2 separate regions of the Homo sapiens genome follow, and region 1 is linked to region 2. The links are contacts of gene promoters, found by promoter capture Hi-C in blood cells and fetal thymus (Javierre and others, 2016). All regions are on one chromosome and are shown on one strand. The core of a region is centred on a gene start or on the middle of the fragment in contact, and the rest is flanking DNA. Distances in the headings are between cores, read along the strand shown.

Evidence for each region. Contacts are between HindIII fragments. The CHiCAGO score rates a contact against its expected background, and 5 or more counts as called.
Region 1: a contact is called between a fragment that was not itself captured here and the fragment with the promoter of CCR9 in region 2, in 2 of 17 cell types (fetal thymus and total CD8 T cells). The highest score is 7.2, in fetal thymus.

What each region holds. Positions count from the first base shown.
Region 1 is chr3:46,075,905-46,079,525 of GRCh38, reverse strand. It overlaps a transcript of XCR1 not described here. Among named protein-coding and RNA genes, the nearest start is that of XCR1, 50 kb to the right of the region's middle. The HindIII fragment of the contact is 2,590 bases long and covers 387-2,976 here.
Region 2 is chr3:45,884,402-45,888,376 of GRCh38, reverse strand. It overlaps CCR9 (C-C motif chemokine receptor 9), which reads right to left and starts at 1,834. Exons shown (of 3, transcript NM_031200.3): 1 at 1,722-1,834. It also overlaps a transcript of LZTFL1 not described here. RefSeq lists a promoter at 1,819-2,818. The HindIII fragment of the contact is 2,128 bases long and covers 1,493-3,620 here.

The sequences.
Region 1 (3,621 bases), core at 432-2,931, 190 kb before region 2:
AGGATGAGGAGAAACAGCTGGAAGTGGAAGGGAGGAGGGCTTCAAAGTCTTTTTAAATTCAGAAATAGATTTAGGATCTTTTTGTTTACCTCTTGGATTGAGGCAATTTTCTCAGAATTTATCTTAAAAAAACTCTAGGTGCCATTGGAAGTAATTATCCTATTTCATGTTCTAAAACCAGCTTTTTTCTCTATTGTGCACACAAATGAATCATTTTGGGCATTTCAAAAGACCCACATTTTGGCCATTGTTGATGATCATCCTGGGCTATATGGGTCCGTTTTCCTAGATATTTACAAGAGGATGTCTCATAAGTGTTGTACATAAAACCAGATGGTGTTTCTAACAATGGTTGTCCCTTAAAAGAGCGCTCAGATTTTCAAGCTTGATTTCCCGTAACTTAGGAACTTCTTAAAAATGACCAAGGCCCAGGATGTGTTTGGGTGGAAGTGTGGTGCTTACGAGCACTGCTCCTCTAGGTGTCACCCAAAAGTCATGAGTTGCTCTCTTACGTTGTCTCAGAATGCCTCTAACCACCAGGTGGCACCAGAGTGCTAAAGGTATGAGCGATCAGTCCCGTATTTTATGCCCATGCAGATGATCGAGTCCCTAAAAAACGTTCTTGTGGTGAGGAATACCCTACGAGCGTCCTTTATATCCTAGACAACAGCCTTGACACCTCTGCAAAGTCTGCAGAGACTCTGCAAACTCTGCAAAGTCTCCAGTCACCTAGAGCACTCCAATTGGTCAAAGTGAGCAACTGCCCTTTCTCCATAGCAAGAGAACTCACTCTCATGCACTTTTCAGTTTAGAACTAATAGGAATTGGTCACAGATGAAACATCCAAGTCTGAATTTCAAACAATAGGAAGCAGCTGCAATTTTAAAAGCGTGCTATGTAAAGCAAAACCACCAATGTCAAATTGCCAATGCCTGGACCCAGACCTCCCTTCCCCAAGGCAGAGGTGAAAAAACGCTGTTCCCCCTACCCTTTTTCTTTTCTGGAACCCAAATCTCCTGCCCATTAGGCACAGATGGAAAACTCCCATTCTAGTAAGGGAGGATCGGAAAACATAGCTCAGGCAAAATCTAGACCTTCAACCAAAAAATGGGAAAGGCCCAGATCTCAGCAGGACTCATACCTTACATTCAACAATTTCTCTCAAAGTCAGAATACAAGAGGTTCCCAGAGCTGGCCAGGCGCTGAGTCTGGGAGGTAAGTCAGATAGTAGAGCCAAGGGGGTTATTCTGAATCCTTCTCATGGCACCAAAAATGCTGACCCCAAAGGAAGAAGATGAGGCACAAAATATATTCATAATTTTGAAGACTTTACTTGAGCCAACATGAGGCCAGCTGCTCAGGACACACTTCCAAGTTGCTTTGGGGAGTGCCGCATCCAGCCTTTGTTGCGAGCAGGCTTTTTAAAAAATAATTTCAACTTTTATTTTAGATTCAGGGGGTTACATGTGCATGTTTGTTACATGGCTATATTGCATGATGCTGAAGTTTGGGGTACAAATGATGCCATCAGCCAGGTAGCGACCATGGTACCCAATAGGTGGTTTTTCAGTCTTTGCCCCTTTCCTTCTCTCCCCACTCTAATAGTCCCCAATGTGTGTTGTTCCCAGCTTTATGTCCCTGTGTGCCTAATGTTTAGCTCTCACTTATAAGTGAGAACGTGCGGTATTTGGTATTCTGTTCCTGTGTTAATTCACTTAGAATAATTGTCTCCAGCTGCATCCATTCAGGCAGGTTTTTAAAGACAAAAAGTGAGCAAGGAGTGGACTGATACAAAGCTATTTGACAGGAATTCTCATTGGTTTGCAGAAATAACATTGATTAGTGATTGGCTTTATGTTGTTGAGCTACAGCAGTGGTCCCCAAAATTTTGGCACCAGGGACGAGTTTCATGGAAGACAATTTTTCCACAGACCTAGGAGGAGTAGGGGAGATGGTTTGGGGATGAAGCAAGTGCATTACATTTATTGTGCACTTTATTTCTATTATTGTTACATTGTAATATATAATGAAATACATGACTCACCATAATGTAGAATCAGTAAGAGCCCTGAGCTTGTTTTCCTGCAACTAGATGGTCCCATCTGGAGGTGATGGGAGACAGTGGCAGATCATTAGGAATTAGATTTTCGTAAGGAGCATGCAACCTAGGTCCCTCGCATGCACAGTTCACAATAGGGTTTGCACTTCTATGAGAATCTAATACTGCTGCTGATCTGACAGGAGGAGGACCTCCGGTGGTAATACTAGAAATGGGTAGCAGCAGATAAAGTTTTGCTCACTTGCCTGCCCACTGCTTACCTCCTGCTGTGCAGCCTAGTTCCTAACTGGTCTGCGTCCCAGAGGTTGAGGACCCCTGAGCTAGAGGATATGAGTTGTGGCATCCATGATTATGGTATATGGCATTTTATAGCTACGTGGCATCAGTTAGTCCAGAGCCCACAGCAAGTGGCTTCAAGAGGTAACTACTTAGCTCAAGCAGGGACTGAGATGTGACAGCTTTTTACTCCAAAGCCTTTCTGGGCTGGATATATTAAAGGGGTTTGTATTCCTCACATAAAAAGTTTCTTTTCTCTCTCAGTGCTCACACAGGGGTCAGCTTTACCCCAGTGAGATGAAATTCAAGTGCAATCCTTGACTTCTCCTATGGCAAGTCCAAGTATTCTTTCCTCAGAAGTGACAATATTACTTCAATAGAGGGCAGTGGCCCACAGCAAATTTCTCTAGCATCTGGAAAGTGAAACTATCAAGAAGGCCAACCTGATAAGGTCAGTTTGGGACCATTGAGGTATAGCCCCTTGTTTTCTATGCCCCAGCATAGAAACTTTCCTCCTTCCCAGGGAAATATGTGAACTAAACAGGAGCCACAATTCTGTCTTTTAACTTTGCTGCTGCTGATTTCAATGATATCCTATTTTTTTTTTTTTTTTCAAAATAATGGCTACCATTTGTTAAGCTTCTACAAAATGGCAATCATTGACCAACATCACATCTAAAGCACTCAACTCTGCAAGATGAGTGTCTTTCTCATTTTACAGCTGAGGAAGCTGAGGCACAAAATATATTAATAATTTTGAAGACTTTACTTGAGCCAATGTGGGGCCAGCTCAGACAAAATATTCAGCCAAGAAGTAGGAACGGCCCAGATTTCAGCAGGACTCATACCTTACATTCAACAATTTCTCTCAAAGCCAGAAGAATACAAGGGGTTCCCAGAGCTGGCCAAGTGCTGAGTGTGGGTGGTATGTCAGATGGTAGAGACAAGGGTATCTTTCAAATTTGCCTAAATTGTAGGACCACATGGAGTAATTGTTTTGCATACAAAATCCAAGTCTCCCCTGGGCAGTGGTTCTTAATCTTAGCTGCTCATGGAATCACTTGGGGCAGGGTTGGAAGGTGACTGTTAAAAAATCTTGGTGGCCCAGGCCAGCACTATCTATCCTGTTGGCTCTTTTTCCTGGAGAACCCTGACTAACACATATGGTGCGTGCTTGGTTTTTAAGAGGCTGCTATACTCTTTTCAGAGTGGCTATGCCATGTTACATTCCCCAAACTAGATAGCAAAGTATGAGATATCTAGATTTTTCCACATCCTTGTCAGAA
Region 2 (3,975 bases), core at 585-3,084:
GAAGGAGGTCATGTCTTTAGCTCTGGGGAGAATCCAGGAGGGCTTCATTGAAGAGGTGACATTTTTGCGGGTCCTTGAAGGCCGAAGAGCATGGAGACATGCAACGAGGGGAGGGAACATTGCTCCAGGGTGGGAAAACATATGCACTAAGGCATGAAAGTCAGAAAGCATGGGGTATGTGCAGGGACCTGGGAGATAAAGGAAGGGAGAGAGCTGCTAATTCTCCAAAAGAGAAAAGTGCCTATTAGAAAAGTTAGCTTGGAACCTATTATTATCCAATCACTATTTTTGTATTCTCTAACATTCTTACGTAGCCAACATGAAAATCAGCATGGGGTTATTGTGCACACAGCATCTCCCCACACTTATAGCCTCTGATGCTTACAGCACTAACATCAAATCAGATACTAACATGAGTCAGGAATGCAGGTCCTTACTTTGAACTTTGTACAATTTGCTACACGGAGCTTGAATCATCTCTTACATTTTTTCATAGCTCTGCTTTTTGTTCCCTACACGAGGCAGGGTCTCTGAGCCATCTATCAGATCCATCCACTCACCATGCCTGGATCAGATGCCTGCCAACCGCCCAGCAGGGGCTGCACAGGGCCCAGGGGCTCCCAACACAAGCCTGTGAGTGAGGCCTACACAAAGAGGCTTCAGAACAGATAAGCAGATATTGGAAGAAAAGGACTCCGAAATTCCAGATGCTGAAATAGTAAATTAGCTTTTGCTCGTTCAGGAAAGGGAGTAAGGAGATGGGATCCCACAGACTGGCTGCTGCACAGCCCTTCCGGTTCAGCACACAGTGACCACTCTCTGGATGGACTTGCCAGCCGTCTATGGAGTAACAGCTAATTCAGAACTAAAGAGGGTAGGTGTGTTTGAAAAGGCAAACCAGCATCCACTGATGAGTCATTTAAAATAACTTTTTGCTTTACTCTGATCATAAAGGAGTATTTTTACAATGCACAAAAAATCCCCAAAATGCCAACATACATAATATAGAAAATAAAAACTCCTGAAGCACCCTTTCCTAGTTTAGCCATTGTTAAGTTTCTGAGATACTTCCTTTCTGACTTTTTCTCTGTAACACAACCTCACACACACACACACACACACACAGACACACACGCACTTAATAGAAAGGAAATCAGACTACACATATAATCTTCTATCTTGCTTTCTAATTGCCCATCTTTCATGGATCACCTTCCATGCCAATTCAACATAGAACCGTATCATAGAATTGGATGGCTGCTGTGTATTCCATTGTCTAGATACATCACAATTCATTTAACCATTCGCCTCCTGATGCATAGTTTCCTTGTTTCCAGTTTTTCACTGCTACAAAGAATCCTTTCCATGGGGCAGTGTCTCAGACTCAAGGACCTCATGGGTGTGTCCTTTACCCCTGGCCACCATCTTGTCCCCCAGCACCTGCTTCTCCTTCCTTTAAGGTATAAATCACAGACTGCCTTAAGCCTAAGCTTCATGTATGTGAAGGGGGAGGGAGTTTTATTACTCGCCCTACAAGAAACCTGGGTTGGGCATCACCAATTCCCATTTACCTTCCTGGAAGTTTCTAGAAAAGTGCCTGGTGCCCATGACCTCTGAACAAATGAGTGCAAGCCCAGGTTTTAGAAGCCATCATAGCAGCACACAACTGAGGGCCAAGATGACACTGGGTTGGGGGCAACAAGAAGAAGAGCAATACTCACTGTGGAGGGCGATGCAACTCTCCCTGGGACAGCAGGCACCACCAGCTCTCAGTGTCTGGGGAAAGAGCTGGGTTGCTCTCTGCCTGGGATGAGGGGCAGGCTTTGTGGGTTCTGAGCAGGCAGCTACCCGATAACAACACGAGAAAGGAAGCCAGGCCACCCCTGCCTGTGTTGTCACTGGTGGGGTAGCCCAAGAGGGTGGGGAGTCACCTGTGTAGCTTCCAGCAATCAGCGGAGTCAATCATTTGCAACCAGAAACAAAAAGCTGAAAACTGCTGGGATAAGGGGAAACTGTCTCATCTGAAGACGCACATACAGACTGATGATCTAAGAGCAAATTCTCTTCCTAGACAGCACAGCTGCTTACAGGGAATGGGGAAATTGGAGGATCCCATCGAGAGAAGTCAGCCTTGTCAGGCTTGCCAGAGGTGCACACTGATGAGATTTCTTTAGGTGGTGTCACCTGAGCAGGCCTGTATCAGATTACCACCCAGTGGCAGATGTAGCACTATCCATCGCAACATACCTTTTCTGGCCTTGACAGACGTACCAGAACCCGGAGGGCTGTGCTATCCAACACAGTAGCTACTAGGCAGATGTGCCTATTTAAATTCAAATTAATTAAAATGCTAACTAGGGCCAGTGCAGTGGCTCACCTCTGTAGTCCCAGCACTCTGAGAGACTGAGGCGGGCAGATCACTAGGCAGAGCCTAGGAGTTCAAGAACAGCCTGGACAACATGGTGAAACCTCATCTCTACAAAACACACAAAAACAATTAGGCAGGCATGGTGGCCCATGCCTGTAGTCCCAGATACTCAGGGAAGCTGAGGTGGAAGGATCAGGAGGCAGAGGTTGTAGTGAGCCAAGATTGCACCACTGCACTCCACCCTGGGCAACAGACTGAGACCCTGTATCAAAAAAGAAAAATGTTTTAAGTGTTAACTAGTTTCTCAGTCATGCCAGGTACATTTCAAGTGCTCAATAGCCACATGCAGCTAGTGGCTATCCCAATGGACAATGCAGATACAGAACCTGTCCATCGTCGCCAACAGTGCTATTGAAAGGCACTGCTTTAGAAAGTCTGCCTGTGAGATGTAGCTAGGAACACATGGAGTGCTGGAAAGCCACAGACACCTTCAAATTGGGGCAAATCTAGTAAGGTTTTGCACATCAGATACATTAACAAAGATAATACAATAAATTGTATTAATTACAGGTGTTTTGGTAAAACTTTGAAAAAAGCTAAATATACAAAATATTGCATTTTTAATGAAGATCACAGACGAAGTCTTCCCATCCACTGCTACAGTGGGGACTTCAATCCTGATGTGATTAATGATTTCCTGTCATTGTTATGACAAAGATCCCTTTTATATATTTGTTCTGGGGGAAAATCATGACTACACTCTTGTGGATGTTAATTTCCACCTCTTGGTGTATTGATTGTCCCGAGGACTCAATGCCGCTCTGTCATGGCGTGGTACTCCCAGGCGCATGTCCCCTTCATCACCCTCAGTTCCCGTAGAGCAAAGGGATGCAGAAGGTGCACTTGGGTTTATTGTCTAAATGGAAAAAGGCCAACAAATAGGTCATCTGAAAGGTAGAGGGCATGCACAGTAAGAACGAAAGAGGTGTCTGATTCATCAGCCTTAAGGAACGGCGGTGCGAGGGAGCCGTGAAATTCCCTTCCCTCGGCGGGCGCTCATTGCAAATAAATGGTGTCTGAAACTATACATAGCTGAGAACCAGCCAGATGCTCTGGCATCTCACTCCTCCCTCTCACTTGGCAAATAAAGACACAAAAGGAACTGGTGCTAGAGGGAAGAAGATGTTCCCTTACTTGACTTTCTTGGCTGAATTTGTTTCTCCCCCGTGTTTGATTGCGTCCTTGGAAAGCTTGCAGCGAGGTGAGACACGCACTATTGCAATTGCCATGGGTGAGGAAAAGCCTGTGCTTCTCCCTTCTCTTGACTCAGGCTGTTTCCTCATCAGGTAAGAGCATACAAGGTAGACACTGCTTGCCCCTAGACGTTGGAGTGAGTCTCGGGGGAGGAAGGAAGGTGAGGCTGGCCGTCAGGGAAGAGGAGAAGGGGTAAATGCACCGGTGTGGGAAGATTCCCTCCTCTGCACGGGTCCCCGTGGTCCAGGTGAGGTGGGGAAGCTTAGGTAGGTTCTTCCATCCAGGTCTGGAAGAGCTGCTCTAGAGCACTCACATGCCCTCTCCTGGGATGCAGAGAGGATCATGAGGCTGGG